3 separate regions of the Homo sapiens genome follow, and regions 2 and 3 are each linked to region 1. The links are contacts of gene promoters, found by promoter capture Hi-C in blood cells and fetal thymus (Javierre and others, 2016). All regions are on one chromosome and are shown on one strand. Each heading gives the region's core, a stretch centred on a gene start or on the middle of the fragment in contact. The rest is flanking DNA. Distances are from core to core; before and after follow the strand shown.

Region 1 (4,281 bases), core at 1,647-4,146:
AGGCTAAGGCAGGAGAATCGCTTGAACTCAGGGGGCAGAGGTTGCAGTGAGCCACTGCACTCCAGCCTGGGCAACAATGCGAGACTCCCTCTCAAAAAAAAAAAAAAAAAAAAAAAGAACAAACATTTCTAAAGCATGCACATATGCTTGGCATATTAAGAGATTTTATTTCTTTTTTGGCCATGGATGCATAACCACAGAAGTTCTATTCTAAAACATTTTTTTTTTTTTTTTATTGAGCAAAAGATTAGGGCTTCAAGAATCTGGACTTACCAAGGCCTCAGAGAGGATTTCAGCAGAGTCAGGACTAAATAAAAGCAATTCTGAGGGTTTTTGTTGTTGTTGTTGTTGTTTACAGAAAGTGTTAAAAGAAAAACTTTAGACAGATTAAATTTAGCAACGTTGGTCTGGGTGCAGTGGCTCACACCTGTAATAATCCCAACACTTTGGGAGGTCTAGGATGTTGGATCACTGGAGTGCAGCAGTTGGAGGCCAGCCTAGCCAAAATGGTGAAACCTTGTCTCTACTAAAAATACAAAAATTAGCCAGGCGTGGTGGCACACCTGTAATCCCACACGCACGTGAGGCTGAGATACGAGAATCGCTTGAACCGGGGAGGTGGAGGTTGCAGTGAGCCGAGATTGCACCACCGCAACTCCAAACTGAGAGACAGAGCAAGGCTCTCAAAAAAAAAAAAAAAAAAAAAAAAAAAAAAAAAAATTCAGCAACGTTTATTTGAGCAAAGAACAGTTCATGAATCTGGCAGCACTCAGAATGAGAAGTTCAGAGTTATACCCACCAGTGGGAGATTTTATACGCCAGACACAGAAGCAAAGTAGGTAAATCCTCTGATTGGCAACAGTTAGGTATATTTGGGCATGGTCTGCTCACTTACCTGCCTGTGATTGACTTGTATAACAAACTCAGCTGTGCATTATAGTTCTAGGGTTGGTTTTGTGTCAAGTTAGGTTGCAGTTCAACACGCGGGGACTCAAGGTATGGAGGGAGCTGCAGGCCAAACTTAATTTATTTAACAACAGAAACACTTTCCTTAACCTGTGCTGAAGGCAAAAGCAAGTGAACATAAAATTAGAAGCAACGACTTAAATTTGATGTAATAAGTGTTTTGTCTTCTCAGAAATGAAACCCGGAAAGGTGTTGGTAAATCGGGAATGGTGGATTCTAACTCACTGAAAATCTTAGGTGCCCTCTCAGGGATGGTTTCTCAGTTTGAACCAATATGAAAAGAGTAGTTATAGGTCGGGCATGGTGGCTCACGCCTATAATCTCAGCTCTTTGGGAGGCCGGGAGGGGTGAATCACGAGGTCAGGAGTTCGAGAACAGCCTGGCCAACATCGTGAAATCCCGTCTCTACTAAAAATACAAAAATTAGCTGGGATGGTGACGGGTGCCTGTAATCCCAGCTACTTGGGAGGCTGAGGCAGGAGAATTGCTTGAACCCGGGAGGCAGAGGTTGCAGTGAGCAGAGATCACGCCACTGCACTCCAGCCTGGGCGACAGAGCAAGACTGTGTCTCGAAAAAAAAAATGTGTAGTTATGTATAACCACATGAGTCTGAGGTCCTATTTGTTTTTGTGTCATTCTGGTCTAGCAAGGGGCCTTCCCCACGACTAACCTACCTGAGTGTTGCCAATGCGGATCTACTCAACCGGACTTGGTCCCGGGGAGGCAATGAACAATGTCTCCGGTACATCGCCAACCTCATCTCCTGCTTCCCTAGTGTGTGTGTCCGGGATGAGAAGGGAAACCCGGTCTCCTGGTCCATCACAGACCAGTTTGCCACCATGTGCCATGGCTACACCCTGCCAGAACATCGCAGGAAAGGTTACAGCCGGCTGGTGGCCCTCACGCTGGCCAGGAAGTTGCAAAGCCGGGGATTCCCCTCTCAGGGGAACGTCCTGGATGACAACACGGCGTCTATAAGCCTCCTGAAGAGTCTCCATGCTGAGTTCTTGCCTTGTCGCTTCCACAGGCTTATTCTCACCCCTGCGACTTTCTCTGGCCTGCCTCACCTCTAGCCCAGTAAAAAACTGCAGTGGTTTTATTACTTTCCCTGAGCATACACACACTCTTGGCTGCCAACGAGGGGAGAGTTAAAATGGGAATCAGGGGACTCTTGAGTTGTTGGAAAGGGTCTGGAGAATATATACAGGATCCACTTGAGAAGCCTTAATTTTTCGTATCTCAGGTTTCTCCAGTAAATAGCTGTGGGGGTGAAGAGTAGCTGTGGCTGAAGACTGAGGACGATTGTCCTCCTGTAGGATCCACTGTAGGAGAATAGGTTCTAAAGCCAGCAGTTTTAGTGTACTAGGAGAAATTACTGCATGAGAACAAATGATTTAACAGAGGACCACGTGGCTACTGCTTTTTGATTGCTGCTTGGACCTCTGCTCTGTATTCTTAAAGCCACACCGCTTCCCTACTGCCATCATATTCCCCTGTCCCCACTGCTATGTCTCATCAACCTCTGTTCCTAACACCTCTGCCACCAAGTTCTCTGTAGAGTAACCTCCTTTTTCCCCTTTAATTACTTGCTCTTTACTTCTGCCTAGGACTCTAGCCTATAGTTCACTGCCCTGGGAATGTTCAAATATAGTGGTTCTTACATTTTAGTGTTTATCAGAATCACCCAGAGGGCAGGTTGCAACACACATCACTAGGCCTCTCCTTCTACGAGGTAGGGCCCAAAATTTGCATTTCTAACAGCTTCCCACTGCTTATTTGCCTTGGATGAATGACAATATGGGCATTTTGATGCTATAAACAAATGCTGTCACCATAGAACTAGACTTTACCTATAACCTATTTCAGCCCCCTTATTTATAGTCTACTTTCCCATATAAAACTAAGATTTATATATAGGGGTGTTTGGGGGTATGCAAATGAATATATAACATATATGCATACACATATATATACATTCTCTTCATTTCTTTTATATGTATAGGTATATACTCATAGAATTTTGATAAGATAATAAATTTTAACCCTTTGATTACATATGAAAAATTTGAGGACCAGAGAAAATAAATGACTTTTTCAAGATTATATTCTTTATAATCAGTACTGGAGGCAAAGCCAGAATGCTGCCATTTTAATTCCAATCTGTTATTTTCACTAAATCATGTATCCTTTTTTATAATGAAAATTAAAATGCTTACATAATTAAAATATTAATTTTAGTTTTCTCTTATTCTTGTCATTATTTCTTAATTTGGGTTCTGATTGCTTGTGTATGTATACCTTTCAAGGTCAGTAAAGAAAGAGATAAGCATCACCAGCTCTGTTCTCTATTTATAATAAAAGCAGGCACTAACACAATAGTTAGATTTGCCTTGTCTTGATAATGTTGACTTAGCTATATAGAAAATATTGGTTTCTTATCCCCAAGGAGGTCACAAAATTCTGACTACAAAGATAAGGGAAAATCCAACTTTCAGGCATTCATTCTGAGAAAAGGAAGCAAACTGGCTGAAGTAAAACACATTTTAATTAAAAAAATAGGACTCAGTAAGAGTAAATATATGCTTAGTTCATCCTGAGCCCACAGTTACCTGGAAACTTATCTAGCCTTGGATCCAGAGGGGAAAGCACCAAGTAACCAGAGTCCATAAACCTCTTAGGAGAATATGCCCTAAGGACGCTAATTATGTTTAGCATCGCTTAAGCATGAGTTAATCCTGCTTGATATATAGCAATATTATTATAGCCTTATTTTCTTCCTAATGATAATTTGCCTGACATTTAACGTTTAACTATGTGCTAATAATTGTACCAAATATGAGATGTATATAACTTAATCCTGGTGAGGGATAAGGTATTGCTTTGTTGTGGGAATTCTTGCTTAGAGGTGTTATGAGTCACCAAAGTCATGCAGGCTCTAAGTGGCCAAATCATGATCAGAACATGGGTTTGTTGGATTGCAAAGCCTATACTACTAGTCATTATGCTAATTGGCCTCTTAAGCAGCTTGGAACAGTTTGTAAATAATTATTCCCTTATCTCGTTACATTCTGAATTTTCTACCTTCACCCGCACCTCCAAAACAGACCCCATATTTGAAAGATTTTTGTTCCTACCAAATTGCTCTTATACTATTTTCTTACTTTCATCTTCCAGCTAACTATGTTGGATATAATTGCTCAACTTTTAACACTGTTTCTGACCCTTTTAAGGCATGTGCAGAGAAAGTCTGGAGTAAGGAGAGGACAAGGAGAAGAGAAAAACTCAAGAAGTAGAAACGGGGCCAGGCGTGGGGGC
Region 2 (4,393 bases), core at 179-2,678, 440 kb after region 1:
TGTTAATATATTCCATTTTACTCCCTTTTCAGTTTGATTAGCTCTTTCTTAAAATTGTTTTTATCAGTCTTCTGTTATTATGTGATTAGCATCTATATAACTTTGTGTCCAAGAAACAAACACATTTATATGGAAACTAAGAGAAGGCACATAAACCATAATTTATGTTTACTATATGAAAGATCATATGAAAATAAATGTTTCTGTACCAGGCAAATAAATAGGTCAGAGATGAAGAGAACAAGAATCAAAAGTCCTCTGTCTCATGGCTGGAGATAAACTTCTGCCAATTTAATGAAGAAGATGCTACCACTCTTTTTTTCTTTATTTCTCTTGTACTAAGCCAACATTGAATTCACTAGCCATGGTATAATTGTGTAATCCAGAAGGCCAGAGATCAACAACTTAAATATAGATTGATAGATAGCAAAAATTCATTTTTATTAGTAAAATTGTTATACAGTGTTTTATAATTATAATTTATTTTTGATGGAGTTTACTAGTGATTTTGTTAATGATTGGCTTTTGGTATTCCCATACCGCACAGCAGGGGTTAACATTGCAGTAATAATATACATATTCCCAGCTGTTGCATTCCGGCTTGCAAGCACCACGAACAAGCTGACATTCTCTTTTTCTCTCTGCAACTTCTCTTGTTTTTTTCTGTGGAACTAGGAAAAAGTAGCTATGACCATAAGTCCAGATTTAATATCCTTAGATACAGAGATGAATAAACTCTTTAAAATGTAGAGTTAAACCATTTTGTTTCTGAAATCATGCCCAAGCAACTCTATTGAAATTTTTCCCTCTCTCAGCTGGTATAATATACTTATTTATCTAACAATATTGCTTTTGTCACCAGCTTTTTAAATTATCATTTAATAAATAGAACATTTTTAAATATCTAATTTGTGTGTGCTTCCTCAAGAGTAAAGAGAAAAAGACATGGAAGAAATAGCCTACATGTTCTGTGTTCTAAATAATCATCCACCTCCAACCCCTTTTCTCTCTACCCCTAGCAATCATTAGGTTGGCTGTAAAAAGCTTAATTTTGATGGTAGCTACAATAGCAGTTGGTAAAATTGATTTTGAAACAGAAGGCAGTGGGAAGTATCTAAAAAATTATAGTGTCATCACACAAAACAACACAATAAATAAATTTAATTCTACATCTCAGGAAGTTTTAAAAATTATTTTCTCAACTACCAGTTCTACTCATTTCTTCCCCCATGAAAAAATAGAGAAAATTGCCTTATAAGGAGTTCATATGAAATCTCCTAACAATAATTTATTTGTTTTTATTATTTTCAGAGTAAAGCATTTATAAGAACATTTTGCCTTTCACATCTTTTTTATAATAACAAATATTACCTGATGGACCACAAGACACAGTGAAGACAAAGGTCAGAAAAATACAAAGTATCTTCATTGCTGATGCAGTTACACTTGAGTAAAGTGGGGACAGATCTCAAAATGTCTCAGAGTTGTGCTAGTCTTTGGTAAAAGAAATATGGGTTCTTGTTTTTACAGCCTTCTTGGCGTGATTACAATTCTGATTAATGCTGCCTACAATTCTGATTAATGCTGACTTTCCAGATTGAGTGCATATTCATGTAAGCATTGTGAAACAGCAAACAAGTATAGTAGAGAGTTTAGTGCTGCTACAACCTCGGTGAGCCAAACATGAATTCATTTCATTTTTGTAAGTAAACAATGGGGTTAAAGTATTCTTGGTCACTAATTAATTGAAAGCACATAATCAACATCATTTACATTTTTGACTACATGCTTTCTTGAGTATTTATTATGTACCAGGGGCTGTTCTAAGAACTTTATAAGGATTAATTCTCATGACAAATTCTATAACATAGGAACTTCTTAATTTCCAATTGAGAAAACTGTGACGCAGACAGAATATGTAATGGCTCACAAATTATACATGTAGTCATTGGTGGAGTAGAGATTAATTATCAGGTTATATGATGACAGAGCTCATTCTCTCAGCCTCCACCCTCCTCATTCTCTCAACTGTATGTTGGGTTTGCATCAAGTGTGGTTATTCTCTGTACACATGGCCTGAACCATACACTGTTTCTGGGATTCAATTTTTCTAGAAATAGAAAGTATTTCTATATCACTGTTTTAATACTGTTATACTAGCAATTATCATAGTTACACTATAAGGATAATCAGTATCATTATTTACATGCCATGTAATGATGACTCAGTCATGAAATTATCTTATTCATAGGAGAGAGCAGTGTGTTAAGAATCTAAAGAGCACTAGATTTAGGTAGGGAAAACCAATCTTGGGGTCTGGTTCTCAGTTTACCATCTATATATTTGGAATAAATATTCATTTATCTAAGCCTTAGGAGTCTCTTCTTGAAGTCCAGATTGGTAGGACCAAACATATTTGGAGTTTTCATAGCAAGGATCAAGTAGAAAACATGTAAAAAATAAATAAGTAATTGATATATGAATTTAAACAATTTGGTCCACTTTCATAAATCTAGAGCTGGGTTTTTAAATCCAAAAAGATGTATCCTTACAACTTAATGATATTATATTATCATTAGATGAGATCGTTATTTTTATTTATATTTGTATTTAATTTATATTCTAACTCCTTCTGTCATTTAGGGAAATAAATTAGAAATATATTATGTAATCTGAGTTTAAAAAGCAGCAGTCCAGTCCTCTTGTCTTTTGTGTACTTCATTCCTCACTCAAAAGGTACCTATGTATTTATAGCCAGACCATGAAAAATCTATTTTCTCAATATTTTCTCCCTATAAAATGCTAAAAAGAGCCCTTTGAACTGTTGGAGATTTAATAAAACTAATTGTATGTAAGCAGAGAAAGATAGCAATGGCAAATTTTAAAAAGCGGGCAGTATCATAGTGACAGCATGTGTAAGAAAATGACCTTGGACAATAGGGCCCATTTTTGCTTCAGTGCTACCATATCCAATTTATCAGTATAAAATAAGCCACTTCTATTGAGCTGGCCCATCAGCTAAACTCATAAATTGCATATTTTCCCCTATCTGTTTAAAGGTGAAGTTGGGTAAAATTATATCTGAATCACACTGAACAAAGGTAAGGGCCTCACTTCTCCCAGGAAAATACATAAGTAGAATCAAACAAGATGCATAGAAAGCAAGTTAATTGAGTTATTTATTGCTTACAATGTGCATCTTATGGTATAATTGGGGAGAAATCCAGATTGTATATTTCTATTTACAAAATCATTTTATTTGTTTCTTTTTGTTTTTTAGGGAGAAAGAGACAAAAATAGAGAAAGTTGAGTGAGAATGAGATTGGGGTTGTGATTAAGGGATTGTGATTTTTTAAGGGAGAAAGAGACAAAAATGAAGAAAGTTGGGTGAGAATGAGATTGGTGTTGTGATTAAGGGAAAAAAGAGGAGGTACAGAGAAAATTTTTAAGAATAGAGAATTGACCTGAAATGTGTGAATTAAATAGTAAGGTGGATGAGCCTTCATATTTCTACTTAATTGAATCAGAATTTAGGAGTTTGAGATTTTTTAAAAAAAGTTTTATCTTTCTTCTTACAATGTTAGATAATCACAGGTGGTAATTGTATAGTTTAGAGCTACAGGGAAGGATTTCTGGAGAGGTAAGTTCTTTGTAAAAGAGGGTGGTTAGGCTTTATGATGTTCAGCTGAGAAATGCCTATGAGGGAGACTTTTCTAGGCCAAGAGGTGGATGTTGGGAATACAAGTAAAGGGTATGATGCTGAGAAGAGAGATGATCAGAAGAATATACCAAATGCAATGCTATTCTCTTACAAGAGTTGCTAATCAAAATTTTGATACTTTCTTTAAGTCAATACCAATAAAGTATTGGTTTGTCAGTCAGTCACTGGGTCTCAGCTTCCACATTTTAGGAATAACAGCCTAAAACAACATATGGTTTCTTTGCAGAGAAAAACCATAACGTCGTTCCCATTCTTTGCTCTTCACTACCAGTCACTGGATTATTGCAACTCCTCCCCACTCCCAAACACAAAACACAGTATGTTTCAATGAACGGATGGCCACAAAACTTTAAAGTAAAAAAATCCGTTACGTGACTAATTCTATATAACAGTGACATTGATTGGCAATTTGAGAAATTTTCAAATCTGAAAGAATCATACAACATTTATTTTACAGATGAAGCTAATAAGAATTACCAAGAAAACACAAGATGGCATAGGCGGATGCTAGTAGCTGGATTTTCTGCCACAACTTTTACTTATTTCCAACCCAAAAGCTCTTACATAAGCTCCAGTGCGGAGAGTTCATATATTTAGAATCCATGAGTCTGAAAGACTAAGCTTCTGTCATGCCTGATTCTGCTGTACCTTATAACAACTATTAAATGCTTA
Region 3 (4,264 bases), core at 1,141-3,640, 490 kb after region 1:
CTCCCCTGAATATTTGGGGTTTATTTCCCAAAGAAATCATCTAACTCAGACATGTGTCTAATAACAACATTGATAAAGAAAAAAAAAGTGGAGCCATTGTTAACCATTACATGATTTCTGAAATTACCAGTGATACCTTTTTTTTTCTTTCACAAAAAAGTTTCTAAAATAATAACTTACAAACAATTTCTGTCAATTACTGTGTGTACTATTAAACCTTTTGACTAGGAATCAATAAACTATTGTCAGGGAGCCAAATCCACCCTGCCACCTATTTTTGGAAGTAATTTTAGTGGCACGCAGACACACCCATTTGCTAACACATTGTCTATAACTGCTTTTGCATTAAAATAATGCAGTTGAGATCATAGGGTTCATAAAACCTACAATATTGGTTGTCTCACTTATTTCTAGAAAAAGTGTGTTAACTCCTACTCTGGCTTTATATTTTCTTATCAATCATGAAAGAATGGGTGAGGGATTTGTAGCTGGGGTCACAAGAAGACATGTCCAGGAGAGCAAAACTGCAACTAAAATTTGCACATTATAAGAAACACAAAATTTGACACAATACAAAAATAACTTTGTAATAGTCAAAGCTGTAAGAAAAGATATGTTTTTTTTTTAGCTTAAAGATGGACTCTCACTAGAAGTTTCTTATTTAGAATTGAATATATTTAGGGGGTTTGAGGACATTGGTTTGATTGGTTATGTGATCTATTCCAAGTCAATTTTTTTAAGTTTATATTTTAAATTGTACCAAGTCAAAATTTTTTTATTTTATATTTTAAATTGTACCCTGGCCGATTCGTTTTCAGAAGTCATTTGTTTTGTAGCCTTTTTTTTTTGTATACACATCAAATTCTTGACCAAAGGACAGATTTAATATTTTCACATATGAAAACAAATAAATTATGCCACTGTTTCCTGCTATTAATTATTGCTTGGTCTTCTCAAAGGCCAGGCCTTTTGGCCTAGGCAGTCTGTCTGCAGTTCCAACAGCTGACACCTGATGGTGAGTAGTAATACCTGTTAGCTAATACATAGACTCAGAGCTACATTATCTATGTCATTGGTATAATGGCTATAAAACCAAGTCCTACTATTAATATTGGCTTTCTTCTCAATGTAACCAAAGCAATTCAGAGTATGAAGCAACTTAAAGAAACAAAAGCATAGAAGAGCATCTAGTTAATCTGCACAATTTAAATATTCACTTCTAAAGATCATTACTTATTCTACATTTTCTGAGGAGTTATTATTATCAAACCCATATGTGATTACCCGTGACAGACACCTGAATTATACTCACTTTTGGCAAAAGTTCTGTCATGTTTGGCACTGTTGTCCATGAATGCACCTTGGACTGACCCCACCCCTTCTCTTATTCATTCTTTGTCTTATTTCACCTTTCTAAAACATTATTGTCTTCTTTCTCCTCATTCTGACCTCTACATGTGTTCTCCAGTTTGTGTCCTTGGATTGCTAATCTCCTTTGCAAGCATTCATCTCCTCATTCAAATAGTATCAATTAAATATACTCCCTGTCAATTGGATGCCAAGCTCAAGGGCATGGTGTCTCACTCTAAGCAATATTGATCTTTTGAATAGGACAATTCTTTGCTCTAAGGGGCTGTTCCATGCATTGTAGGTTATTTAGCAGCATCCTGGGTTCTATCTACAACTGGTACTGTGCCAGTAGTACAAGTTGTGATGAGCTAAAAGGTCTCTAGACGTTGCCTGATGTTCCCTTGAGCACAAATTCACTCCTCTCTGAGAACCACTGGTCTAGTGATACTTCGATATTTCAATAATTATTATTTCTGCCTTCAAATACATTGTTCAAGTCCAATCTGTCTGAAGTCTCTGATCATTACTTTCAACAAAGTAAAATCTCTCTCCATTTCTGTCTCACATCACTTTTTGTTATGATATTATTTTAGATTCACAGAAGAGTTGCAAAGTTGGTGGAAGCCAGCTTCCACTTATGTTATATATTGCATAAACTTGGTAATGTTAATTAAGATTAACGAATTAATGTTGATGTAATAGTATTTACTAAGCTATTCAGATTTTGCCAGTTTTCATACTTGTTATTTTTGTCTGTTTTTCACTATTGTCTTTATTATCTGTTCTGGAGTCCAATCTAAAATACCACATTACATTTTTGTGAAATGATGTTTTAATCCCTATGTTATTATCATATTTTTTATCAAGAAACAACTTATGTCTTCTCAAATTTGTTAGTATAAATCCCCACAAATATTTGCATATTACCTGGTAAAATTGTGACCCAAAAGTGCAGAATAAAGAAAAAAAGTTGAATCTTCATGGTAGAGAGTTTCTTAAAAAAAGGGGGCAACAGACCTCCTTTTTCAAGTCAGTTGTTTTGAAATAAGGAAACAGAGATCCCTTTTATTTGTGGATTCTCCTGGGAAGTACTTTTAACCACTGAGGCTTATCAAGAGCAAGAACATTTGTATGCTTGGTTGAATAGTGCCACCCTCAAAGAACATGAACTCAAAAAGTATTATTAAATTTTTCTCATAAAAGTAAAACCTGCTGTGTAACCTTAACTAGACTTTCATGAAAACAACACAGTTTTTAAGATATTTTATTTATAGGGGATATGTGTTTGGATTGCTAAATGTTATAGTAATCATCTCCTCTATTCTATGTTATATGTAATATTAAGTATTCTAATGCCTTAGTATAAAATTGTTGAATGCCTGAATCATAAGATTTTAGAGAAAAAGTTTCCATTGAGATCAGTTTTGTTTTGCTGATAAAACAATGAGAACCAGGGAGATTAAATAACTTTATTTCAATTAATATAATATGCAATTATTTAAATAATCAGTAAATTCTGGATTCACTAAAAATGTGAGAAATATTCTATATGTCTTTTTTTTTTTTTTTTTTTTTTGAGATGGAGTCTGGCTCTGTCACCCAGGCTGGAGTGCAGTAGCACCATCTCAGCTCACTGCAACCTCTGCCTTCCAGGTTCAGGTGATTCTCCTGCCTCAGTCTCCTGAGTAGCTGGGATTACCGGTGCCTGCCACCACGCCTGACTAATTTTTGTATTTTTAAAAGAGATAGAGTTTCACCATGTTGGTCAGGCTGGTCTCAAACTCCTGACCTCATGATCCACCCGCCTCGGCTTCCCAAAGTGCTGGGATTACAGTCATGAGCCACCATGCCCGGCCAAGTCTTTGTATGATTCATAAATTTTCTATAGTCATCTGATTTCAAAATTTCAGGTTCAATGTTTTAATTCTGTTTATGGAACTGAAAATTTCATATCTGATCTAAATTGCATGCTTGCAAAAACTATTATTTTGGATATGTGAGAAAGAGCTGGAAGTTTTGCCCAGTACTCAGAAGCTGATGCTATAAAGAAAAACAATTGGCCAGGTGTGGTGGCTCACACCTGTAATTCCAGCACTTTGGGAGGCTGAGGCGGGTGGATCACCTGAGGTCAGGAGTTCTAGATCAGACTGGCCAACATGGTGAAACAACCCCGTCTCTACTAAAAATACAAAAATTAGCCGGCCATGGTGGCAGGCACCTGTAATCCCAGCTACTCAGGGGTCCAAGGCAGGAGAATCACTTGAACCTGGGAGGCAGAGGTTGCAATGAGCCAAGATTGTACCATTGCACTCCAGCCTGGGGTAAAAGAGTGAGACTTCCTCTCAAAAAAAAAAAAAAAAAAAAAAAAGAAAGAAAAAGAAATCAATTAATCAATTATTTCCTACCACATAGTTAATTTTTAAGACAGTGGTTCCTAAACTTTAGCTGCATCAGAATCCCTTAGAAAGCTTGCTAAAATCAGATTGCAGTGTCCCACCCCCGGCATTTCTGATTTAGTAGATCTGGAATAGGGACTAAAATTTGCTTTTCTAACAAGATCATTGAATGCTAATGCTGCTGAAAGGGACCACATATTAGTCTAGGAAACCTAACTCATTCATTCTATAATGTCTAGGAAAAATGTTTCACAGAGTCATAGAATCTGCAGCATACATTAATAAAGAATTAAAAGCTGCTTAGAGTTTCTAATCAAATATACTCACATTACTGGTGAGAAAAGTAAAATCAAGATAGATGAACTTATTTACCTAGTAATTGTTATCCTTTGCAACAAATGCTTCATATTATAAAATAAAAATAACAACTTTTGGACTAAATCAATTATGGGGAACTTGAGTTATCTATTTCCTTTCTGGGAAAGAAAAGAAAAATTGAGAATGCAGCATTAGTTGAT

The links. The method cuts DNA at HindIII sites, captures the fragments that hold promoters and counts their contacts. A CHiCAGO score of 5 or more calls a contact.
Region 2: the fragment with the promoter of DEFB113 here is called in contact with a fragment that was not itself captured in region 1 in 1 of 17 cell types (erythroblasts); the score reaches 5.1 in erythroblasts.
Region 3: the fragment with the promoter of DEFB110 here is called in contact with a fragment that was not itself captured in region 1 in 2 of 17 cell types (megakaryocytes and erythroblasts); the score reaches 7.2 in megakaryocytes.

The regions. Positions count from the first base shown.
Region 1 is chr6:49,524,876-49,529,156 of GRCh38, forward strand. It overlaps GLYATL3 (glycine-N-acyltransferase like 3), which reads left to right. Exons shown (of 6, transcript NM_001010904.2): 6 at 1,613-3,203. The coding sequence ends at 2,039. Among named protein-coding and RNA genes, the nearest start is that of C6orf141, 24 kb to the right of the region's middle. The HindIII fragment of the contact is 8,083 bases long and covers 1-4,281 here.
Region 2 is chr6:49,968,197-49,972,589 of GRCh38, forward strand. It overlaps DEFB113 (defensin beta 113), which reads right to left and starts at 1,429. Exons shown (of 2, transcript NM_001037729.1): 1 at 1,372-1,429; 2 at 481-671. The coding sequence starts at 1,429. The coding sequence ends at 481. The HindIII fragment of the contact is 3,298 bases long and covers 1,043-4,340 here.
Region 3 is chr6:50,019,604-50,023,867 of GRCh38, forward strand. It overlaps DEFB110 (defensin beta 110), which reads right to left and starts at 2,391. Exons shown (of 2, transcript NM_001037497.2): 1 at 2,278-2,391. The coding sequence starts at 2,332. The HindIII fragment of the contact is 4,807 bases long and covers 1-3,816 here.